3 separate regions of the Homo sapiens genome follow, and all the other regions are linked to region 3. The links are contacts of gene promoters, found by promoter capture Hi-C in blood cells and fetal thymus (Javierre and others, 2016). All regions are on one chromosome and are shown on one strand. Each heading gives the region's core, a stretch centred on a gene start or on the middle of the fragment in contact. The rest is flanking DNA. Distances are from core to core; before and after follow the strand shown.

The links. The method cuts DNA at HindIII sites, captures the fragments that hold promoters and counts their contacts. A CHiCAGO score of 5 or more calls a contact.
Region 1: a fragment that was not itself captured here is called in contact with the fragment with the promoter of MARCHF3 in region 3 in 10 of 17 cell types (total B cells, naive B cells, erythroblasts and 7 more); the score reaches 17.3 in total B cells.
Region 2: a fragment that was not itself captured here is called in contact with the fragment with the promoter of MARCHF3 in region 3 in 6 of 17 cell types (total B cells, naive B cells, erythroblasts and 3 more); the score reaches 12.3 in total B cells.

What each region holds. Positions count from the first base shown.
Region 1 is chr5:126,936,977-126,939,676 of GRCh38, forward strand. The region is part of intron 1 of MARCHF3 (membrane associated ring-CH-type finger 3); the gene reads right to left. Among named protein-coding and RNA genes, the nearest start is that of MARCHF3, 92 kb to the right of the region's middle. The HindIII fragment of the contact is 1,150 bases long and covers 838-1,987 here.
Region 2 is chr5:126,955,637-126,958,336 of GRCh38, forward strand. The region is part of intron 1 of MARCHF3 (membrane associated ring-CH-type finger 3); the gene reads right to left. Among named protein-coding and RNA genes, the nearest start is that of MARCHF3, 74 kb to the right of the region's middle. The HindIII fragment of the contact is 635 bases long and covers 1,092-1,726 here.
Region 3 is chr5:127,029,143-127,031,842 of GRCh38, forward strand. It overlaps MARCHF3 (membrane associated ring-CH-type finger 3), which reads right to left and starts at 1,416. Exons shown (of 5, transcript NM_178450.5): 1 at 1,208-1,416. It overlaps LOC105379163 (a long non-coding RNA gene), which reads left to right and starts at 2,201. Exons shown (of 2, transcript XR_007058920.1): 1 at 2,201-2,700. RefSeq lists a silencer at 1,378-1,757 and an enhancer at 1,754-2,298. The HindIII fragment of the contact is 7,560 bases long and covers 1-2,700 here.

The DNA of each region.
Region 1 (2,700 bases), core at 163-2,662, 92 kb before region 3:
CACGCTGCAGACTGGCATTGAGGCCACTAGTGTGTCATTTGCTTTCCCTCAGCTTTGGGTCTCTCAACAGTAATATATAAAAACTAAATCAGCTTCTGTGAGCTATACCAGGCTTTGTCAGAATAAAATGAAGTGACAAATTCACAAATGTCCCCAGCTACAGAGCACTGCAGCAATGTAACAAACGGTCATCAGTGGTCACCACCACCAAGTTCATGCCTGAACCCTTCAGTGGTCCTTTGCCCCACTTGGGGGCAGTCACAGATGTCAACAGTAGACAGACAATGACCCAGACAGGATATACTCTTTTTTCCTCATACATCTACAATGTGTCTAAATTAACATCTGGTTACCTTTTTTTTTCTTTTTAACAAGAAAGATGCCAATTTAAATTAAAAATCCATATACTTTACAGAAGTCATATTCTTGCTAGAGAAGACAAATTATAAACAGGAGCCAGCAGCAATAATCTGCCAAATTTTATAAAGCATCATTTATCATTCCTCTTTGGAATTTATATATCCAAATTGTCCAGACAGCAATTGTATATTTAGACCATGGGGCCTTATGAGAATTGGTGGGTGTAGTCACCTGTTTTATAAATGAGGAAACTAAAACAAAGGGATTTTATGATTTTCTTAGCACCATAAGTTAGTGGAAGAACCTGATTAACTCGATTTCTGACCCAAATTTCTATGAATTGCTACCACTATTATTATTTAATACTGACTAAATGGATATACTATGCAAGGTGACCTTGGTTGTTGTTTTTGGGGTGAGAGTGGGGTGAGAAGAAAGAGTAGGGAAATTCTTTTTAATTCTTTTACAGAATCGAAAAGCTTTCTTCCCCCAAGATTAGAGTTAACAAAGAAGGTGATTTCTGCAGTTATGACAAGCATATTCCACAAAAAAACTCCTGAGTTTCCTAATAACACTGAGTAGGAGTGAAGGCATAAAGGAAAGTATCTGCTCTTTTGATAAGACTCAAATTTTGAAACAAGGAGAATCCTGGTATTTAATGCTTGGGCAAGACCATGTGTAGTAGCTGCAGAATTTCATGACTAAATTTTACAATACATAGTTGCAGCAGCTATCACTGACATTGATGAGCACCTCGGATTTTTGCAATCCACATTTTATTAACTTAGGGGAGAATAGAACATAATTCTCAGCTCTGTTGATCTGATTCTTTTTTTTTTTTTTTTTTTTTTGAGACAGTCTTGCTCTGCCGCCCAGGCTGGGGTACAGAGGCTCAATCTTGGCTCATTGCAATCTCTGCCTCCCAGGTTCAAGCGATTCTGATGCCTCAGCCTCCCGAGTAGCTGGGATTACAGATGTGTGCCACCACACCTGGCTAATTTTTGTAATTTCAGTAGAGACAGAGTTTCACCATGTTGGCCAAGCTGGTCTCAAATTCCTGGCCTCATGTGATCTGCCCACCTCGGCCTCCCAGAGTGCTGGGATTACAAGTGTGAGCCACTGTGCCTGGCCTGTTGATCTGATTCTAGAGAACTTTGTTGTTGTTGTTTTTAAAAGCTAGGAGTTAACATGTAGGGCAAAAAAAGCAAAAAAAGCAAAAAAAAAAAAAATTTTACAAAAAAACCCTTAGAGCCAAATCCTTAGTATTTCCCAAGTCTCACACTGTGGATACAATTTCTCTTCATATTTGTGAGTCATCATGCATTTTTCTAGGCATCACAACTCATTCACTTCCTAACTTGTGCAATGATTTAATTTTTCCCCCATAGCATTTGTAGGCAGGAAACTTCTGGGAGCTGTGCTGCTGAATTACAGAAAATTAGAATCTGGTTTGAGGAAAATCACTTCACATGTGCATTACAATGAAGAAAATGTAATGTTTCCTCAGTTTCACAGAAGCCAAAATAAATAATTTTCCTTATTTCTTATATACATAACAAGAAAAACCATATAGTGATTTCCTTTTGCTATTAAAATCAGGTATTTGGGGAGTGGAGGAAGAGGTCTAAGCTTGTCCCGTCACTAAATGAAAATGAATTCTGTGGATACATTGGTCACTAAAGTTGCAAATGGCTCTTTTCCTTAGAAAATCTTAGAAAGATTGCCAGAGGTTTCTCCCTTCTTGGATATTGTATAATAACAGCACATGTACAGATTCCTGTTAGCATTGATTCTGCAACAAACATAATCTTATGCTAGGGTTGATTATAACAGGTGAACTCAACTTAAATGCTAGTATTATTTATTCATTGACAACCCCACCCCCTTGAGTATGCCTTCCCTAGATATGAAAAGGTTAGGCTCAACATCTCACCTACATAATCCCCCTCTTCATGCCCTTTCATTTGAAAGGAAAGGTTCCCTAAAGTGTTATAAGTTGTTTGGCGAGGGTTGACAAAAGGTCCAGGAGCGGCTGGGCTGGGAGAACACTTACTAACACCGTGGCTACTACCTGTTCTTCATTTCTTTCTTATCCCTTACACCTTCTTATGTGGGCTGTTCTGGGTGATCAGCCTTCACTATGATTCCTTTTGGAACACAGTATTAGTACATAAAACACAGAACCATAGTATCTGAGAAGGACTGGAAGAAATTATTACCAGAACTTTGTAAATGTTTAGTTGTAATCTTAACACCAGAGATTCATCAGGAATAAAAGTACTTAAACCCTGAATCTAAGACTTGAATAGAAAGGAAATTTAAACAGAGTCAGTTCTTGTT
Region 2 (2,700 bases), core at 159-2,658, 74 kb before region 3:
ACCCATTTCTGTAGTAAGTTGTCCGTCTTTTTTATACTGATTTGTAAGGATTCTCTGACTATATAGTCTGAAACGTTTTTTTCTGCTTTATGTGTTGAAAAAATATTTTTCCAGTTCAGAGTTTGTCTTTTAGCTTTACTCATAGAGGCTTTTGCATAAAATAGTTTTACTTCTTAGTGTAATCTTTCCTTTATGAATTGTCCTTTTTTGTGTACCGACTGAGAAATAATCTCTTCCCCACAGTCATAAAGATATTTGCCTGCATTTCTTTCTAATAATTTTAAAGTTTTATTTTTCACTCAGGCCCTTAATACATTTAAAATTATCCATTTGTATGGGATGAGACATTAATCTACCTTTCTTTTTCATGAAGAGAACTAAATCACTTATTAAATAATCCTTTCTTTTCCCACTTATTTTTAATGCCTTGTCTACTCTATGCCAAATTCCCACATACATTTTGGAGATTGTTTTCGGAGTTTCTACACTGTTAAAATGAATAGGTCTCAGATTTTTGTCAGAACCTGTTTTTAAACAGTTTTCTTCTAGTCCTCAAATTGTCCATCTGTACCGCAACCTAACGATTTCTTTTGTCTTCAGTTACCCTGAAGATATTTTTAAACCAAGCCTCTTTGTTTATAAATGAAGAAACAAAGATGCAGAGATCTTATATTTCCCATTCAGGTTTACACAGCAAGACAATTAGAAAGCTTGAACTAGGTCCAGGCATGGTGGCTCACGCCTGTAATCTCAGCACTTTGGGAGGCCAAGGAATGCAAATAGCTTGAGCCCAGGAGTTCGAGACCAGCCTGAAAATACAGTGAAACTCTGTCTCTACTAAAAATACAAAAAAACAAAATTAGCCAGGTGTGGTGGCGGGCACCTGTAATCCCAGCTACTTGGGAGGCTGAGGCAGGGGAATCACTTGAACCTGGGAGGTGGAAGTTGCAGTGAGCCAAGATTGCGCCACTGTACTCCAGCCTGGGCAACAGAGTGAGGCTCTGTCTCCAAAAAAAAAAAAAAAAAAAAAAAAAACCAAAAAAACAACAACAAAAACAAAAAAACAAACAATAACAAAAAAAAACCCAGAAAGCTTGAACTCAGATCTTAACCTGCATCCCAATCCACTTTCCACTAATGCCTTCCTCACTAAAAGTTTCCATTTTCTGTGAACATTTTACTTTCATCAGTAGTTGAACGAAACTGCCCATTTCACCAAATCTTTGTCATGACTAGGTTTTATCATTTAAAACATCTCTTTGAATTGGCAGGTTAAGAACGGTGTTTCTTTCTTTTTAAAATATGGGGTCTCACTATGTTGCCCAGGTTGGCCTGGACCTGCTGGCTTCAGGTGATCCTCCCACCTCAGCCTCCTGAGTAGCTGGGACTATGGGCACATGCCATGGTGCCACTGTGCCCGGCTAAGAATGGTATTCTTTTATTAGAGTTTTTTTTGACATAAACATTTTAGTAAATATACATTAAGTAATAAATATTCCTTTAAAACTTTATCACGTTTCTTGGCCATAGTATTTAGTCTTTTTTATTTGTCTATTCATGTCTTTTCCTTACTTTCCTATTGAGTTATATTTTTTGCCTTTTTATTAGTGGTGCTTAAGAATTCCATGTATATATTAAAGATAGTAACCTTTTGTCACATATGTTTAACTTTAAAAACATTCAGTTATTTGTCTTCTAATTTTGTTTACAGGCTATTTGACACATAAGCTTTAGAAGTTAAACCTATCAATCATTTTTTCTGCAGTCTCTTCCATCATTCCTGTACTTCCAAGTGCAGATAAATACTCATCCTAGATTTTTCTATAGCTTTATGATTTCATAAAACCTTCAATCCATTTGTAATTTATTTTGGTGTATTGCATGATGTTAAAAAGTAACTTTCATTTTCTCCCAATGGTTTCTCAATTGGATCAATCTTATTTTTGATAACTTCTTTATTTATATGTCATCTTTATCTGTAGTAAATTCTTATACATACTTGAATCTGTTCCTAGATTCTGCTTCATTAATCTATTTTTGTAAAACATCACATTTAAAAATTATTATAGACTTATAATTCATTTTTAATAACTGGTAGAGGAAGATTCCCAACATTACTGTGCTCAGATTTTACTCATCATTTCTGTTGTTTATCCTTCCTGATATTTTTAAAATCATCATCTAAAATTGTTACCTTGTTAAAAATGTATTTAAGCTGAACAATAATATAGAAAGAATTGTGTCTTGCAAATATTTAGTTTTCTCATCTAGGAACATAGTATTTATTCAAATTTTCTTTTATTTTGCTCAGTATTTTAGTTTTCCAAATATAGATTTATTACTGAATATTTTATACTCTTGTAAATGGGACATTTCCCATTACATGTTATAACTACTTATTGCCCATACACGGGAAAGCTATTGATTTTAGTTTTATTTTGTATACAGATTTTTATTATCAAATTTTTATTTATTACTTTGTGTTGATTCTTTTAAGTTTCTAGGTAAACAGAAATATAACATACAAATCATGGCTATCTTTCTCCTCCTTTTCTCTGCTTTCTGTTTCTTAGATGGGCAGTAGCTTCCAGAATAATACTGAATGATCATGATGACAGGGAATATCTTTGTCTTGTTTTACATTTTAATAAGGTTACTTGATTTTAATAAGGTGCTTCCAGTTTACCATTAACCGTCCTC
Region 3 (2,700 bases), core at 166-2,665:
TGTGACCCAAGGGAAGTTCAAGGCTGAATTTCCCCTTCATATATTTACCTCATTCACCTTTTAATTTTATATATACACACACTCACACATATACACGTATGTATGTGTGTATATGCGCATCTACATCTTCATATACACATACAGAACTATATATCTCAACATTTTCATGTATTTTCAAAGGTCTAAACATCCCCAAATTCTGGACCTGTTTCTGTCTAGTATTTTCAAAAGCTCTTATTCATGTCAAATAAGAATTGTAAGAAAATATCGTATTGAATTCTGTTTATTCCGCACATAATATAAACTACATGCATGTAGTTGGTCTCAGAAAAACAAGCTGCTTTTACCCCCTTACCATTAAGGGGGGAAAACAATCTAACCCAGACCGAGTCACAAACGGAGTGTCAGGTTTAACCTTGAGTTCTCTGCTGTCAATTCCTGACTCAACTTCATCACTTAAACACGCAGGTGCTCAAACAAACACCAACCGACCAGGCTGGCAATCCCTTTCGCAGCCTCTAGGATTCTCCAAGGCACTGGGCACCAGAACCGACAGCAGCTCCCGCCTGGTCCTAACGAAGTCCTTCGGACACCCCTTGCGGGTGGATGTGGAGGTCCGAGCACCTCAGGAGGGTCATGGATTCAAGTGCTAATAGAAAGCAATTACTTTAGAAAGTTCAAAGCCCAGCAGTGCTCTCAATTCCTCTCAGTAGCTGCAGAGCACTGAAGCCCCCGCTACAGAACCCGGCTGGTACTCCAGTTCTCTGGCGCTGAGACCCACCTTGAGCCCGATGAGCGCTCGCTCAGCCTTGAGATCCAGACGCGGACGCCGGGTCTTACCGTACCGCACAGCGCGGGTAATTTTTCAGGAACCGCGGTCCGCACGCCGCGGGCGCGGAGGCCGCCCCAGCGCTCCATGTCGTTGCCGCAGAGGGGCAGGGGACGCGTCCCGGCCCCACCTACCCATGTCAATTACGCCAAGTTGGTGCGGACTGGAACCGCGTCCCGGGCGGAGTTGGGATGCTTTGACAAGAAGAAGTTCGGGAGTGGGGATATTGGCACGGAGTAAATCCCGCCCAGCCCTGACCTCCCCACAGCGGTCACGCTCGGACGAACGGACCGCCGAGCGCCAGGACGCGTCCCGTCCCCTCTCGCCGCCGCCGAACCGCGCCGAGAGGAGCCGCTAGCCCGGCGCGCGGCCACTCACCGTCCTCGCCGAGTCCCGATAGCAAACCGACGTCCCTGCTGCGGTTCTAAGTGCCAAGTTGCCCCCAGTCGGTGGCTGCTCACGGCCCAGTGGACCAGGGCACATTGGTTCCGGCGGGCACCTCAGGGGGAGTGCGGCAAGCCTGGCGGCCGCCGCGGCCACACAGTCGCCCACAGCGCGCTGACAATTCACGGACCTGCTCAACGAGTGAGGCGGAAAGCAGGGCTAAGCCGACCAGGCTCTGGAGGGGAGGCGGGGCTGCCGCTAGGGGCGGAGCCAGCCCCGGGGCGTCATCAGCCCATGACTGGCGGAGCCGACAGCCAGTCGTGGTGGCGCTGGGACCGCCCCGTAACCGCCGTCCAGTCGCCTGCGGCCGAGGGCAGGCTGGCGGGACGCGCCGGCGGCGGGGAAGTTGGTTATTGCGAAGTGCCGTGGCTGCCGGCGGGCGCTGCGGGACTCTCTGCAATGGGACCCGAGCAGCTCTAGAGGGAGGCGGCGGCCCCAGAAGGCCGTTGGCTGAGAGAGACCAGGAGCCCTCGGAGCCGCCGCGCGCATAGCGCTGTGGAGCAAGAAGCCAACCGCAGCGCGGGTCGACACGCCAGTATCTGGCACCGGCAGGAGGCGCGGAACTTAGCTGCCCCATCGGAACCCCGCCCGGAGGAAGCTGAGGGCCGAGAAAGGATGAATTCCGGACCGGGTCGCCCAGCCACAAGTGGAAACCTGGGCTCTCTGGAAAACGTTCTGATCTCGATCTGGCTATCTCTGAAACAAAACTCCAGCCCCGCAAACCTCCCAAAGTTCAGTACACGTCCCCGTCCTCACCCCTGCCCTCCGGGCCACCTGCAGCGGGGGACTTACCGGCGCCTCGGGTCTCCTCCTCCCGACCCAGCGCGTCGCGGACACAGCTGGCGGCCAACAGGAGGCTTGGGCGCTCGACGGCGCCGGAACCTGTGAGACCGTCGCTCTGGGCGGGCTGCCGTGCGGGGTGGCATCCTCTGCGGTGACTTCTGCTGTCTTTTGGGTCCGCCAGGATTCCAAAATCCCAGGCGGGTCGCTAGAATTATCCATCTTCGTGGACAGGAAGCCCCAGAACGAACCACATCTGTCCCACTCTGCTTCCGCCCTCCTTCCCCTTCGCAAGCTCCTGGCTGGGATGGAGACATCGGACGAGCTCGGAGATCCCGACCTCTCAGGGGTCACTCGCAGCCGAACAGCCTGGAATATGGCCTTGTGGGCCCTTCCCGCCCAACCCCCTAGGACCCCACTGCTCATCTTGTCAACCAGTTTCTGAGCCCCTACCCTGGCTGCAGCACGTGCTCGCACAGGCGCGCTGAGCTACTAACATAGAATCAAAAGCAGGGAGTTGGGTGTTCTTGCTTTCCCGCTGAAACCTAGAATGTAAACAAGCCCTAGACCGTCAGCTGTGGGTGGGTAGGGGCCTCTCCCTGCCTAGAACTGCTCTTGCCATGGGTAGGCACCTAACCCGTATTAGT